Regions from separate parts of the Homo sapiens genome. Here region 1 is linked to region 2. Evidence: promoter capture Hi-C in human tissues and cell types (Jung and others, 2019). All regions are on one chromosome and are shown on one strand. The core of a region is centred on a gene start or on the middle of the fragment in contact, and the rest is flanking DNA. Distances in the headings are between cores, read along the strand shown. Region 1 overlaps ARHGEF7 (Rho guanine nucleotide exchange factor 7). Region 2 holds the start of CARS2 (cysteinyl-tRNA synthetase 2, mitochondrial).

The links. The method cuts DNA at HindIII sites, captures the fragments that hold promoters and counts their contacts. A contact is called where the count stands out against the background at its distance.
Region 1: a contact is called between a fragment that was not itself captured here and the fragment with the promoter of CARS2 in region 2, in 1 of the 25 tissues and cell types used here (dorsolateral prefrontal cortex).

Annotation. Positions count from the first base shown.
Region 1 is chr13:111,248,357-111,252,022 of GRCh38, reverse strand. All of the region lies in intron 8 of ARHGEF7 (Rho guanine nucleotide exchange factor 7), which reads right to left. Among named protein-coding and RNA genes, the nearest start is that of TEX29, 70 kb to the left of the region's middle. The HindIII fragment of the contact is 4,062 bases long and covers 170-3,666 here.
Region 2 is chr13:110,704,427-110,708,207 of GRCh38, reverse strand. It overlaps CARS2 (cysteinyl-tRNA synthetase 2, mitochondrial), which reads left to right and starts at 2,092. Exons shown (of 15, transcript NM_024537.4): 1 at 2,092-2,338; 2 at 2,637-2,687. The coding sequence starts at 2,115. RefSeq lists enhancers at 1,165-1,284, 1,295-1,674 and a silencer at 1,725-2,284. The HindIII fragment of the contact is 14,015 bases long and covers 1-3,781 here.

The DNA of each region.
Region 1 (3,666 bases), core at 951-3,450, 540 kb before region 2:
CCTCCCACTTTGGAAGTATCAACTACAGTGGCAACCACAGACAAAGAGATCCCTTTTGGGGATAAAGGAATGCTTGGAAAAAGTCATATAAGCTACAAAAGAATTCTAGGCATAGGGTCATTCTGGGGGAAAAACAAAAACAGAATGAATGCATGCATGCATGAGTGTATGTGAAGGTGGTGACCCACACTTCCTGGTTCAGAGTGGTTCCGGGAGAATGAATGCATGCAGGCATGAGTGTATGTGAAAGTAGTGACCTACTTCCTGGTTCAGAGTGGTTCTGGGAGAAGACGCTGCCTACAACCAGCCGTGGATCCCAGAAGCACTAACTACAATGCCTAAGCAAAAACAGACTTGCTAAGTAACTTTTATAAACACCTCCACAAAATTACCACTGAATGATTATAAGTCAGTGGCTTTTAAGGTAACGGATATTTATTTAACACGGAAAAGAATCTCGACAAAATTCAATATCCTCCTTTCTGGAGTCTCTGTGTCCTCCTGCCCTCTGCCCCACCCAGACCACTCATCACAGAGCATACGGTTCCTTTTACAGAAGAGTGCCGACTATGATACTGCCAAGCTTCAAATCCATCAGCGGCTTCCAACTACTCTTGACAGTCACCTAAGATCCAATCAAAGTCTCCAGGACCTGATCTCGCCTGCCCGTCCGGGCTCCTACTGTTCCACTCCTCTCCATTCACAGGCTCCAGCCACAGCCAATGCCCACCTCAGGGTGCTCTCTCTCCTGTGATATCAGATAAACTGTCCCTGGCTCCCAAAGCCCCTGGAATTTTCTGAGTGACAGAAGTGTCTTTTGTTACCCATCATGAACCCCTTTCCGTCATACCCGAGTCTATGCTAACGAGGTAACTCTGGGTCGGCCCCTAGACAGCTTACAGGATGGGGGCTAGGTGTCACAAAGACCACCATGATCACAGGAACTTTCAGCCCCAACCAGCAACCTAAAGGGAGGACAAGGGGCTGGAGATCATGCCACTCAGCAATGTCCAGTGATCTAGTCAATCATGCATGTCTACCTAACAGAGCCTACATTAGAAACCACCAAGGACAGGGCTTGGAGAGATTTTGGGTTGCTGAAAGCACGGAGGTGCTGCACCCAGAGGGCCTAGAAACTCTGCTCCCATCCCTTACCCTACATCTTTCTTCTATCCATCTCATTCTGAGTTGCATCCTTCATAATAAACTGGTACCAGGAAGTCAAGCACTCTCCTGAGTTACATACATGGGTCATTCCAGCAAATTATCAAACCTGAAGGGAGTCATGGGAACCCTCAAATCTGTACTCAGTCAGGTAGGAGTATATAGCTTGGGCACCCCATTTGCAGCTGGGTTTGAAATGTGGCAGTCTCGTGGGAGACAAATGTCCGAATAGAACTGAACCACTGGAAACTCAGTGTCAGACAATTGACGAAGTGCTGGTGTGAGGAAAAACCTCCTCTCGTTTTTTGCCTGGTTACCTCCCATTTACCCCTCAGTGCTCAGTGATCTTCCCCTGAAGTTTGCTCTTGGTGCCTGATATGATTTCTTTCGTAAGAAGGTCTGCAATTGTAGCTTTCTAACTATTTATACAATTTTCAATTATCTGTCTCCCTCACCAGACTATAAGCTCCACCAGGACAGGCTCTATCAGCAGCCAGCCAGCATCACGCACGTGGTGGCAGCGTGTGCACAAGCGCCGAATGCACGCATACCTGAGAAAGCTGCTCTAGGCAAACTGGGCACATTCCAGCTATCACAACCTCACAACACAAATGACAGTGTGCCGCTACTAATGCAGCAAATGGCACAAGGGCATGGAAGGCAGATTGCAGTTTCTATTGTTTTGAACTGAAAGCCTAGACAAAGCATGCTTGCAAGGAGCCCTCTACAGCTGATGAAAGGAAGAACTGTGATTTGAAAAACTAAAAGGAAATGGGTTCTATAAATCTGGCTATAGCCAAATTACTCCTATCAAACTGACTCGCCTGCAAATAACATCGAAACTTTAAAAAACATATAGAAAGTAACTGCCTAGAGGCACTCAAAAGTAGCATGAAAGATAACAGAATCTTGGGACCCAAACTCACTATGCCAGTGGGAAAGTGAAGCTTGGGAACTGAACTGTGCAACACTGTCTGCCTTTTGTTGCCGAACAGAGAGCTGTCATTCCACAACCCTGTGTCATGGCCTCATCCATACGCCAGGTGCCCACAACTACAGAAGGCCACATAGCTCCCCAGATGGCCTTCCTCACAAAGTGCTCACAAGGAGATTTCTTGTGAGCCCCTAAATCTATCAGAACATATGTCCCCCACTAAAAACTAGCCCTAAAACCGAGTTCTATTGTATCTCACCCTGGCAATGTCAAGTACCAGCTTATCTTCATAGGTACAGACAAGGACAAGAGCAGAAATCACCCTTCCCGTGAAAGAGAACCCTGAGAAAAACGCACAACTGACTTTCCTCTACTCCCCCTTTCCCGTGTAAAATGCAGGCTTACTGAGGCCAATCGGAGGCTCACAACAATGTTTAAGCATCTGCCTCACTGCTCCCCAGCCTCCCTTTTTTCCCCTCCTGCTTGTTCTTTCCCCTTTAAATACTGAACTTCTCAAAGCTTTGGAAAAAGCACAAATGCTCCTGTTACCTGGCACGTCCTCAACTGCAGCTACGTAAACCTCTATCGATTGAGACCTGCCTGAATCACTTTTTAGTTAGCATCAGGTATATTCTGGGGAAGGATGGACATTTGGAAAAAAGAACGGGCAGGGCACCTCCTGCTTTCTCAACTATTAAGCTAATGGCAGCCAACTTTGTTATGTGGAACAGCTAAAACTCCAACAAAAATCCACAGGGTTTGGTTCTACCAGAGTTGCTGGGAAGCTGGGGGAAACCCACGGTGAGTGTGACCCTGAATTCTGTCTCTAAATTCTGCCCAAATCTCTGGCTGACGGCAGAACAGAACTTGCAAGGCCAACTTCAGATCAGCTGAGTCTAAAATAAGTGGACTGAGATTTGAGCATCTGCCAAAGGGAGAGTTGGCAATTTGAGCCTGACCAAGTTAACTGCCTGTCAAACAAGCAAATCAATACTCTTCAGGGAAACCTAACATGATCAAGAGTCTACAACCCACAGTAAACAGGACACAATTCAAAGTCACTAGAAATAAAAAGAATCATGAAGACGTAACCCATCCTCACAATAAAGAATCAGCAGATGGGACCTTAAAGCAGTTATTCTAATTATTGCTAAAGGATATAAAGAAAAATATTCTTGTAGTGAATGAACAAATATAAAATCTTAGCAGAGAACTAAACACTTTTTTTAAGCGAAACAAATTCTAGAACTGAAAAAAATTCTCAAACTAAAAACTTGTTGCACGGGGACGAACAAGAGAGTAGAGAGGCAGACAGTGAACACTTAGGACACAGCAGACGCCATTCAACCTGAAGAACAGAGCAGAGACCAGGTCAGAAAGCAACGAGCAAATCCAGGACCTCCAGCAAAAGGTCTACATGGGTGTAACTGGAGCCCCAAGGCAGAGTAGAAACAGTAAAGCAGCAAAATATTTGAAGAAATAATGCCCGCAAATTCCCCACATTTGGTAAAAGACATAAATTTTCAAGTTCGAGAAGTCAGAAAACCACACCCGAGATAATCACCGTC
Region 2 (3,781 bases), core at 843-3,342:
GCCCTTTTATTTCTTCTAAATTTTTTTTTTCCAGCCACAGCAAAACAAAACAAACAAAACCCAAGTCCTTTTCTGAATTTAGTGCAGGGCACAGTGAGAAGTTCAAAATAATGTACAATTTAAGATACTCAGGGAGATAAATATACACACAGCACTGGAAAGTTACAAAATAACATAAGGCAGGCAAGAAGTGATAATATTCAGGAGAATTTAGAGTAGTTAGGTAACATGAGTGGTTAGCATTGATGTAGGCTATAGGGTCTCCTAATTCTAACATTTTAACCTTATTAAATTAGACAATAGATTACATTAGACTACAGTTAGCTTGAAACAGAATTGCAGAGTTGGACTCCAGGATATTGAGAAACTACTCTAGGTACACACTTGTTTGTCTCTACTTAAACCTTTGCTTTTTAATAAAACACCAAAGCAAACTAAAAACAACAACAAAAAACCAGAGGAACGTCTCCTGTTTTGAGAACTGGAAAAGCAAAGGGGACTTTTTCTTTTTTTTGAGACATCGTATTGCAAGACACCAATAGAGGCACTTTTTTTTTTTTTCAGGCGGAGTCTCCCTCTGTTGCCCAGGCTGCAGTGCAGTGGTGTGACCTCAGCTCACTGTGAGCTCTGCCTCCTGGGTTCAAGCGATTCTCTTGTCTCAGCCTCCCCAGTAGCTGGGACTACAGATGCACGCCACCACGCCCGGCTAATTTGTGTATTTTTAGTAGAGACGGGGTTTCACCATATTGGTCAGGCTGGTCTCGAACTCCTGACCTCAGGTGATCCATCCGCCTCAGCCTCCCAAAGTGCTGGGATTACAGGTGTGAGCCACTGCGCCTGGCCCAATAGAGGCACGTTTGTCAAGCTATTGTGAGTAACTTTCAGAATGTTTTTGTTCTCAAGATACGGGATCATGGTGGGGGAGGCATGCTGTGTATTGGAGTGCAGACATGGTGTGTGTTGGGTTGCACACTGTGTATTGGGGTGCACACTGTATTGGGGTGTAGATGTGTGGGGGCGCACACTCTATTGAGGTGCACATTGCATTGGAATGCAGACAGTGTTTGCTGGGATGCACATGTGCTGTGTTGGGGTGCACACTGTACTGGGGTGCAGACATGGTGTGTGTTAGAGTGCACAGTGTATTAGGGGTGCACACTGTATTGGGGTGTACACTGTACTGGGGTGCAGACATGGTGTGTGCTGGGGTGCACACTGTATTGGAGTGCACACTGTATTGGGATGCTGATGTGGTGTGTGCTAGGGTGCATACTGTGTATTGGGGTGCAGACTGTATGCTGGGTTGCACACTGTGTATCGGGGTGCACTGTGTTGGGATGCTGATGGTGTGCTGCAGTGCACACTATTGGGGTGCAGATGTGTGTGCTGGGGTGCACACTGTATTGGGGTGCACACTGTATTGGGATGCTGATGTGTGTGCTGGGGTGCATACTGTGTATTGGGGTGCACACTTCTTGGGGTGCAGACTGTGTGTTGGGTTGCACATTGTGTATCGGGGTGCACTGTGTTGGGATGCTAACGGTGTGCTGCAGTGCACACTGTATTGGGGCGCAGATGTGTGTTTGGGGTGCACACTGTATTGGGGTGCACACTGTATTGGGGTGCTGACGTGTGTTCTGGGGTGGACACTGTGTATTAGCGTGCTGACGTGGGCTGTGCTGGGATGCACACGTGCTTCGCTAACAGGCCAGGGCCCGGCAACAGAAGCTTGCACTGTAAACGCTCCTCCCGCGCGGCGGACACAGCTCCAGGCTGGTACCGCGCGCACACGGACGCCTCGCAGGACCTGGGCTAATAAGGAGAGGAGATCGGCACGGTACCGCCTCTTCCCACGGCCTCCCGGCGCGGCACCGCCCTCCTCCCTCCACCCCGGGCCTTCCCCGCCCCAACCTCTTCGGGCCCTGGTTCTCCACCCTTGCCGCGGGCGACTCGAGCCAGGCCAAAGGGAGGCGCTACCTGAGGACTGCTTCCGGGAGTGGGCGTGGCCCCAAGGGCGTGGGCGGGGCGGGGCGGGGCCGTGCTGCTCTTGAGCGACCGGCAGCGTACCCGGCGTGGCTCCCGTCTCCGCCCAGTCGTAGGCGCTGGCCGCTGACATGTTGAGGACTACGCGCGGCCCAGGCCTGGGCCCCCCGCTGCTCCAGGCCGCGCTGGGCCTTGGGCGGGCTGGGTGGCACTGGCCTGCGGGCCGGGCGGCGAGCGGGGGGCGCGGGCGGGCCTGGCTGCAGCCCACGGGCCGGGAGACGGGTGTGCAGGTGTACAACAGCCTCACCGGGAGGAAGGAACCCCTAATCGTGGCGCACGCCGAAGCCGCCTCCTGGTGGGCCGCGCGGGACTGGGGCACGGGCGGGGGCCGATCGTGGCGGAGACTTCCCACGGCTGAACGGGATCTGGGCTCGGGGAGGGCGTTTAGGAAGCTGCATGGAGGGCGCCGTTCTAGAAGCTGGGGGTGCGCGGTGCTTTTGCAGGTTTGGGTGTGAATTGAGCAAGTATGAAAACCCCGGCTATTCATCCCCCAGAAGTGATTACTTTAAAAATTATATGATCATTATAACTCAGAATCGAATGTCCTTTCTTGCAAATATGTTCCACACGATGGATTTTAACTTTGTTTCCAGGTATAGCTGTGGACCAACTGTATATGATCATGCGCACCTTGGCCATGCTTGGTGAGTTTCCTGGATTTGAATTTTCATACTTCAAAGGACCATTTATTTTTGAAAGCCTTTTGCTGATTTCTTTTATCTCTTAAGTGGCAACTTAGGGATGCAGAATAATTCCTACATTCCAGGCATTGTGGGAAATGTTACAACCTCATTTGGTTCTTATAGGGATTCTGAGCACTTACACCCGTTTTACAGGTGAGGAAACTCAGGGAGACAATGGAGCACTGAAAAATGACCCGTTTTGGAACTAGATGTTTTTTGCTGGGTTTAGTGACATCAAGAGGCCTTTGCGGGGTCCCGGGGTCCTGCTGATCAGTCATTCCTGGGCCCCACCACTTCTTAGCTTCACAGCACTGAGCAGGTCACTTTATTGCTTTGAGTCCTGGTTTCTTCATCTTTGAGATGGGAATGATAACTTGGATCTTATAACAATTTTAGTAAATAATGCCCATAAAATGCTGCTTAACACTGTACCTCACATGTGAGATGTCACGGGGCTCAATAGTGATTGAGTAACTTTCCTAAGATGACACATTGAAGAGGTATTGGAACTGGGGTGAGGCTTGGTTTCTCTGACTGCGAAGTGGTTGCTCTCTTGACCTCTTTAACTGTAAGATGTACTGCCTCCTACATTTGCCAAAATTACCACTTTTCCTAATATTTTGTACATTTCCAAAATATAATGTACAAAAATGACATATTATAGATTTTTTAAAACTTAGTATTGTTCAGTCCTAGACTAAAAGTAAAAAGTTACATTTACTCTGTATACTTTTTTTTTTTCTTGAGACGGAGTCGCTCTGTCGCCCAGGCTGGAGTGCAGTGGTGCAATCTCGGCTCACTGCAACCTCTGCCTCCCAGGTCCAGTTGCCGCCTCCTGGCAGCAATTCTCCTGCCTCAGCCTCCGGAGTAGCTGGGATTACAGGCATGTACCACCACGCCCGGCTAATTTTTGTATTTTTAGTAGAGACGGAGTTTCACCATGTCAGCCAGGCTGGTCTCGAACTCCTGACCTCAAATGATCCACCTGCCTTGGCCTCCCAAAGTGTTGGGATTACAGGCATGAACCACCATGCCCGGCATACTCTGTATACTTT